Regions from separate parts of the Homo sapiens genome. Here all the other regions are linked to region 1. The links are contacts of gene promoters, found by promoter capture Hi-C in blood cells and fetal thymus (Javierre and others, 2016). All regions are on one chromosome and are shown on one strand. The core of a region is centred on a gene start or on the middle of the fragment in contact, and the rest is flanking DNA. Distances in the headings are between cores, read along the strand shown.

Region 1 (2,700 bases), core at 192-2,691:
TCCTGTAATCCCTGCATTTTGGGAGGCCAAGGCAGGAGTATCGCTTGAGCCCAGGAGTTTGAGACCAGCCTGGGCAACATAGTGAAACCCCATCTCTACAAAAAGTAGAAAAATTAGCCCAGCACAGTGATGTGTGCCTATAGTCCCAGGTACTAGGGTGACTGAGGTGAGAGGATCACTTGAGCCCAGGAGGTGGAGGCTGCAGTGAGCCATGATCACGCCACTGCACTCCAACCTGGGCTTCAGAGCAAGACCCTGTCTCAAAAAAAAAAAAAAAAAAAAAAGGTCCCAGGGCCTGTTGGGGCTTGGGGGTGAGGGGAGGGATCTTAGAGGATGGGTCAATAGGTGCAGCAAATCACCATGTCACACATATACCTATGTAACAAACTTGCACCTTCTGCACATATACCCCATTTTTTTTGTTTGCTTGTTTGTTTGTTTTTTAGACAAAATAAAGAAAAAAAAATAAGGTCCTGTTGACTTAAAACTTCGGATGAAATTGTAGTGGGACCTGTGATCTGTTTCTACATTAGGATACAGTGCCTTGGGGCAAGGAAATATGGCAGTGCCCGAGGTGTCAAGGTGGGCAGGCAGATCAGTCAGCAGGGGCTCCACCATCATGGTCTGCATTCAATACTGGCTGCATTTCCTAGGAGAATCCCTGGGGGAATCATTGCAGTTGGAGCATAATGTAGGGGGCCCCTGAGAAAACCTCCAGGCTTCAAGTGACATACCTAGTCTGCTTTACCGGTTTACAGGACTCAAGAGAAAGGTGGACATTGAGAGTTAATCCCTGAGGCCAAATCTTAAATGGAGAAAGTCAACATCCACAGAAAATGGGGAAGGGCACAAGTATTTCTGTGGGCTTATATTCCGACATTTTTATCTGTAGGGGAAAAATGCTTTCTTAGAAAATGACTCAGCACGGGGAAGTCTTGTCTCTACCTCTGTCTTGTTTTGTCCTTTGGGGTCCCTTCACTATCAAGTTCAACTGTGTGTCCCTGAGACTCCTCTGCCCCGGAGGACAGGAGACTCGAAAAACGCTCTTCCTGGCCAGTCTCTTTGCTCTGTGTCTGCCAGCCCCCAGCATCTCTCCTCTTTCCTGTAAGCCCCTCTCCCTGTGCTGACTGTCTTCATAGTACTTTAGGTATGTTGTCCCTTTACCTCTGGGAGGATAGCTTGATGACCTGTCTGCTCAGGCCAGCCCCATCTAGAGTCTCAGTGGCCCCAGTCATGTTGAGAAAGGTTCTTTCAAAGATAGACTCAAGATAGTAGTGTCAGAGGTCCCAAGCAAATGAAGGGCGGGGACAGTTGAGGGGGTGGAATAGGGACGGCAGCAGGGAACCAGATAGCATGCTGCTGAGAAGAAAAAAAGACATTGGTTTAGGTCAGGAAGCAAAAAAAGGGAACTGAGTGGCTGTGAAAGGGTGGGGTTTGCTCAGACTGTCCTTCCTCTCTGGACTGTAAGAATATGTCTCCAGGGCCAGTGTCTGCTGCGATCGAGTCCCACCTTCCAAGTCCTGGCATCTCAATGCATCTGGGAAGCTACCTGCATTAAGTCAGGACTGAGGTGGGTCTGGGGTATGGCAGGGGCTGGGCAGCAGCAGCAATGTACCTTGCTTGGGACCCCTAAAAACCAGAGAGACAGCATGGCTGGTGCCATTTATCAGCTAGTGGAGGAGGCTGACGGAGGGTGGGAGTGTCATCAGCACAAGGCCCTGGCAGTCCCTTCTGGTGATTAGAGAGGCCGAAAGGGTCCTTTCCGACAAGGGCTGAGGGTGGGCGGAACAGGAAGAGAAAAATGTGACATGAGGTGACCATCCGAACAGGTAGCAAATGTTAGAAAGGGGTACCTCTGGCAAACTTAGTGGAAAAGTAATATTGCAGGGAGCAGTCAGATAAAAACAAGCCCTTCTGTCAAATAGTGCTTGAAGACTCAATAGGGATACATGGGTCAATGAAGCCTTTAGAAAAAGAAATACTAAGAGGCAGATTCTCTGAGAACATGGTAAAAGCTCACGCTCCACGTTATGAAGTTGACCTTTGTGAGCTAGGGAAAGGCCTGGCTAGGCCAGGGTGTAGGCTACCTGCCTTGAGCTGTACCAGGCCAAATGTCGCCAGGGTCAGAGCTGGCTTATTAAAGGACTGTGTGGAAGCTGTGCCAACCTCGTGGTAACAATGGGTAAAAGACTGGGCCAGGAGAAAGCAGCCTCTGCCTCAGCCCAGACAGTGCGGCCAACCCTTGAGGTTGTGGCAAAGGTTTCTCCTCTTACCATTGCCCTCCATGTGCATGGCTTGCTTTTCTCTTGTCTTCATTATTTCTCCTTTCCTTTCCTCCTCTCCAACCTCCTCCTCTTCCCACTCATCCTCTTTTCTCTACCTATATCCCCTCTTCATTATACCCTCCTCTGTTCTGTTGATTACCAGACCCTGACATACAGTTAGCACTTAACAAATAATTGCCGAATTGCATTGACTTTTTCTTGCTCCTTTCTTCCCCCGCTCTTTTCCCTTTTCCTTTCCCTTTCCATTTCCTCCTCCCTGCCTGCCTAGCACCTTCCCCATAAGGTGGTTGTGAGCAGTAAATGTGCAAATACATGTAAAGCTTTTAAAACAGGGCCTGGCAATAGTAAGTGCTGGATCTCAGTATTTGCTATAATTTTTACTCTGCCTCAGACCTGCCAATGTCCCCCAGAGGGC
Region 2 (2,700 bases), core at 92-2,591, 2.3 Mb before region 1:
ACAGAAAGGTAACAGTCTAGTGTAAACGGATATACTTATCCATCCTCTGAGTCTCACTGAGTCCCCAGTTTTACAGATGGTCCTGAAATTGAGGTCTTTTGCAGGCTCCAGTACCCTGAAAAGTCTCCATCACTGAGCCCAGGTAAAGCAAAGCCCTTCACTAGAAATTTGAAGTCACGAAGTGAGTGGTAAGTGTAAGGGGTTCACTCAGTTGTGAGCACCATCGAGGTAAGAAAAAAGTCTCCATCTGTAGCTATGAGCACAGCACTTGGAACAATGGAGGTGGGCAATAAATGCTAGCCCAACGAACAACTACAAATGTGGAAGTAAGTGTATTTGGCCATACTGCCAAATTTCTCTGGTTGGAAGGATCAATGAGTAAGTTTTCTTGTGTTTTTGGAGGAGGCAGTGGTGGGGGAAACAGAAAGGAAGAGAACATGAGTCTACAAGATCATTGGGAGGCCGGGTTTAGGGTAAGCTGAGGTTGGAGTTCTCTGGGTTTTGTTTGATCATTTTTTGCTTTGTTCTGTTTGTTTTGTCAGAAGGCAGGGTTCTCTCATGATTTTTTTTATACCCCTATTTAAAAACTTTTAAAGATTTCCCTTTGCACAGAAGTGTAAGATTAATCCTTCAGTTGGCTACTAATATTGCCTTATCTCCCTTGGATTTATTCACAAATTTTTGTGGAGTGCCTAACACAATATGCCAGGCACTGTGCTAAATACACAGATACATGGTGAGGAAGAAACATAACTCCTGCCCTCAGAGGGCTGACATTCTGGCAGGGGAGACAAACTTAGATAGAGACATTTAAGAAGTGACCAGAAGGAAAAGTAAGATGGAAAGAGGCAAGAAGGACCAGGAAGGCAAAGGAGAAGGAAGATGTTAGAGGTAGGAGAGTTTCCAAGAGGGAAGTGATGTAACAGATTTGCATTTGCAAAAAAACTCCGGCTGCAGAGTGGAGAACAAATTGTAGGGAGACATGAGTAGGTCATCAGGTGAAAATAGTGGTGTCTTAGAAAGGGGAAAGTAATGGGTGCTATGGGAACATAAAGCAAGAGTACTTAATCTGGCCCTGGAGATCAGGGAAGGCCTCCCTGAGGAAGTGACATTTAAGTGAGTTTTGAAGACTGGGTTAGCTGTGGTGAGGAACATGACGGGGTGAAGACTGAAGAGAGTCTGTGTCATACTAACTTTCTGCCTTCGCGAAGGCAGGCCTCATTGTTACTAACAATTTGGTCCTAGCCTGGAATGCCTGGTATCTTTTTTCCCTTGGCCAAATTGTGTCTATCTTTCTATAGCCCTCTCAAACTCCATTTTCTCTGATGATGACCAGATATGACTACTCTCGTTTCTAAACTCTTATTCTATGTCTGTCACTTAGGATTTAAAGTCTTACTATTGGTATTGTGACTTAAGGTTACACGTTTACAAACTTCTTGTAAGTTCCTTGAATTTACGAGCTGTCTTGTATTACTTTGGCATCACCCAGAGTATCTAGCCCAGTGACAGGCACATGAGGTATTCACTGAAAGAATGAATGAATGAATGAGGCACTAGAGTCCCTGCAAGCCTCCTTTGGTAGTTCACTATTATCTGTGAAGCTGACAAGGAAAGGGGTCTGCTTTCCCTATAAGATTTGTACTAAGTACTTGGATGCACAAACCTAAGATCTGAAATTGACAGCTCCTTCCCTCTGGTCACTGATTCTCACCCCCTTGCAATCCTGCCCACCCCTACCCACCACCTTCTATTGTTTCTTCTGTCTTCTGGTTCTCAGCCAGGATGAGAAAATGGTCTAGCTGTCCTCAGAGACTTACGCCAGCCTGGACTGCTCTGCAGTGCCATGAAGGGCCAGGACTTTTGTTTACAGCTGGGAGCATGGTGAGGTGGTGAGCACAGCTGACAGCCCCACTCTGGAGCAAACATCAATCTTCCTCTGTCCTCTCGGCCAAGTTTCACAGACCAGCTCTATTGAAAGCTGGCTGTACCGGCCTGGGTCTCATTGACGTCCTACCCAGAACTCTGGCCTGGAAGCAGCGGGGTGAATCTCGGCTTTGTACCTTTTAGGAACTGCCCTTGCTCCCTTCTCTGTCCCCAGTTTCAAACCATTTTATCTCAACCTCAGGACCTTGAGAGAACATGTGCTCTGATTTCCCCATGCCCTAAACAGTGCCCCACCTCTCCAACCATATCTGCTCACTCCCAGCAGTGTACAAACCCCGTCATTTGCTTAGTTACACAGTGAAAACACAACAAAGAACGAACAAAACCACATAGTTTTCAATGGGTACTCTATGGAACCCGCCTTTCCAAGCAGGTTCAGGTTGGACCTGGAACAGTCAGGTTCCAAGTCCTTGAAAGAGTGTGTGTGTGTGTGTGTGTGTGTGTGTGTGTGTGTGTGTGTGTGTGATCTTTGCCTTCAGGCAGCTTTCCCATTGTTTTATTGTTGTTGTTGTTGATTTTTGTGTATGGTGAGAGACAGGGATCCACCCCACTGTTTTAAAAACTGCAGGTCAGCTGGGCATGATAGCTCACGCCTGTAATCCCAGCACTTTGAGAGGCCAAGGCGGGCAGATCACCTAAGTCAGGAGTTCAAGACCAGCCTGCCCAACATGGCGAAACCCCGTCTCTACTAAAAATACAAAAAGTTAGCTGGGCGTGGTGGCCGGCGCCTGTAATCCCAGCTACTTGGGAGGC
Region 3 (2,700 bases), core at 200-2,699, 2.8 Mb before region 1:
CCCCCAGCCCTTTGTATATGTATCTCAAATATCCACCTATGTTAAAACTTGAGGCTGTATCTAGAACGTCTTCAACCCACCCCCCAAGATTTGATCTAACACGTAAATGCTTGCATGAGAGAAGTCTCCAGAACACTACCTTCTACTGAAATCAGTTAGGAGGAGATACACCCTCTGAATAAATTTGTGTAAGTCAGTCCATCCTAAGCCTTACTCTGTCTCTTCAAAGGGGAAGGAAACCAAGGGATATGTCATATGAAGGAATCCTCCAGATTTAAGCTTACCAATTTTGGCAGAGCCTAAAGCGCTAAGGCAAACAGTTAATAAAGGAGGAGGAAAAAAAGAGAGAATCGACTAGTTTCCTAGCGCTCAACTAAAAAAAAAAATGGGGTAGGGGTGGTGGCGGCGGGGGGAACAGGACTGTGAGACAGATTAAAAATAGGGAAAATGAAGCTTCTAGCTTTAAATGTTCCACCTTTCAACGCCACTTTTCAAAAGATCTATGGATTGATCTTGAGCCATCCAAATTCCTCTACAGCGTACCGGAAATGGAAGGGGTTAAACTTTTGCAGATGGATGCAAACAGGGGCGTATCTAAAAATCAAGGGTGGGGGTTTGGGATTCGTAGGGTACAGATGGGGGGAGGGAAGGGAAGCAAGGGAGGGAGAAGGTAGGGAAGGGAGGAGTCGCTATAGCCAGAATATGAATGAGGAAAAGAGAGTAAAACGCCGGTCGAAAGGAAAATAGGAGGGCAGGGGTGAAAATAGGGAGGGGGGGCAGGGAAGGAGGCCGGGAATGAGCGCTGGTCGAAAGCAGGTGGGGGAGGGGGCGACTGGAAGCGCAGCCCGGGACGAAGGATCAGGAGCGGGGGGCGACCAGAAGTGGAAAATCCACCCCTGCCCTCAGGTGCAGTTCGTACCTGTTGGTGTGGAAGCGGTGGAGCGGGTCGGTGCGATGGCAGGAGGACAGCTGGCAGCCGAAGTCGCTGATGTCCAGGCAGCCCGGCTCCTCGCTCGGGCAGGTGCCCACCCCGCGAGGAGGTCCCAGGAGTGGGAAGGGCTCCTCGGGGGTTAGAAACTTCTCGTAGGAAGTGATGGCCGAGGCCTCGTCGGACATGGTTGGAGATGGCCTGGCTCGGGCTCCCTCTCTGGCCCTGGGCTGCTCCCGCGCCCGCCCCTGCCCCCACTCTAACCTGTCCGCAGTCGCCGACGCTCCGGGGTGTGCCCGTCGCAGCTCACTGGCAGGCTGGGCGTCGCGGCCCGCTGCTGCTTGCCGGGGTGCGGGGCCGCGCGAAGAGGCTGCTCGAGGCCACAGCGGCCCACCGGCCACCCAGTTAGCGCCCCGGTGGCCTCTGCAGCTTCCGCCGCCGCCAGACTCAGCCCGTCAGCGCAGCGCCGCCGCCCGGCCCGGCCAGGCCCGCCCCGCCCACTGCGCTCGCCGCTTGCGACTGCAGCAGTCTGCCCGGCGCCCGCAAGGAGGGGAAGGGCGGCGGGAAGCCACTCCCCGTGCCCCCTGCTGGACCGGAGGAGGAACTGAACCTCCGCCCGCCGCGGCCCCAAGCGGCCCGCCCCGCCCTCTACGCATCGAATCAGGGATTCAGGCCGCTAGAAAGGCTAGGCGCCTCTGGCCAACCTCCTCCTCCGCTTTCTCACTCGTACTCGACTACTAAGCAGGAACCGCAGTCCCAGAAAAGGGACTTGGCCAAGGTCACACTGCGGGTGCGTGAGAAAACATCCAGATGCCCTGGTTCCCAGCGCACTCTTTCATTCTGTCCCAATTCAACAAGTATTTATTGAGCTCCTGCAGTGTGTGCCCAGCACCGTGCAATGAGGTGTAGGAGAAATCGTCCAAGCAGGGAAAATAGTCCCTTCCTCACCCTTGATCACCTAACTCCAAGAACCCTACGCTGCAGCCACTCGCCTACTCAGAGCTGCTGGACACGTCGTACTCTTTTGTGCTTTGCGCCTTTTGCTCATAGGCACCCTGCTTGGAATGCCCTGCCATTTCTCCCCTGCTAATCCTTCAAACTCCAGCTCAAACGTTATCTCCTCAGTGAAGCCTTCCCTGACTCCCAAAGGAGACTAAGGCACACCTGCTAATTTGCCCCCTCCCTCCCGTAGAAAATATATTATGGAGCTTAACTTGTTCAACTTGAATCAACTTGTTAGGTGTTATATAGTGTACTTTGCTGTTTATCTCATCTCTCTTCTCTATATTCTGGGCAAGTGATTCCTGTTCTTGGATGCGTAAGATTAAAAAAAAATAGAGGAAACCCCAAGATTACTAATTTCTTACTTTGCCCAAAGAAGACAATTTTTAAAACTACCTAATATTATTTTATAAAAGGAAGCACATTTTCATATAAGAGCATAATTCTTCAATAAAAGCAATTCTTTGCATTAACTATATTTATGAAGAAACTACATTGATCCTTCAGGAAAGCATAGAACTTAAATAGGCGGAAAGGAGGGGAAAAATGAAAGAAGGCAGGAGGAAGAAGAGAAAGAGGGCAGGAGAAGTGGGGGGTTGTCACTAAAACAAGCCCCATTCAGTATTAAACTCTGTGCCTTGCCCTACCAATGCAACTTATAGTGAAAACAGCTTCTCCAACGTGCCTTTAAAATGTATACATTATCTTGCTTCAGTTACTTGGTTGTTTGACTGTTGAGCATGCCGGCTTTCTTTCATTGAGATTGCAAG

What was found. Contacts are between HindIII fragments. The CHiCAGO score rates a contact against its expected background, and 5 or more counts as called.
Region 2: a contact is called between a fragment that was not itself captured here and the fragment with the promoter of BTK in region 1, in 1 of 17 cell types (neutrophils). The highest score is 5.1, in neutrophils.
Region 3: a contact is called between the fragment with the promoter of FAM199X here and the fragment with the promoter of BTK in region 1, in 5 of 17 cell types (neutrophils, M0 macrophages, activated CD4 T cells and 2 more). The highest score is 12.1, in neutrophils.

Annotation. Positions count from the first base shown.
Region 1 is chrX:101,384,932-101,387,631 of GRCh38, reverse strand. It overlaps BTK (Bruton tyrosine kinase), which reads left to right and starts at 1,441. Exons shown (of 19, transcript NM_000061.3): 1 at 1,441-1,570. RefSeq lists an enhancer at 1,955-2,174. The HindIII fragment of the contact is 7,609 bases long and covers 1-2,607 here.
Region 2 is chrX:103,693,268-103,695,967 of GRCh38, reverse strand. No RefSeq gene overlaps it. Among named protein-coding and RNA genes, the nearest start is that of MORF4L2-AS1, 7.3 kb to the right of the region's middle. The HindIII fragment of the contact is 4,314 bases long and covers 1-2,700 here.
Region 3 is chrX:104,165,202-104,167,901 of GRCh38, reverse strand. It overlaps FAM199X (family with sequence similarity 199, X-linked), which reads right to left and starts at 1,449. Exons shown (of 6, transcript NM_207318.4): 1 at 920-1,449. The coding sequence starts at 1,116. RefSeq lists an enhancer at 1,107-1,607 and a silencer at 1,172-1,661. The HindIII fragment of the contact is 4,401 bases long and covers 456-2,700 here.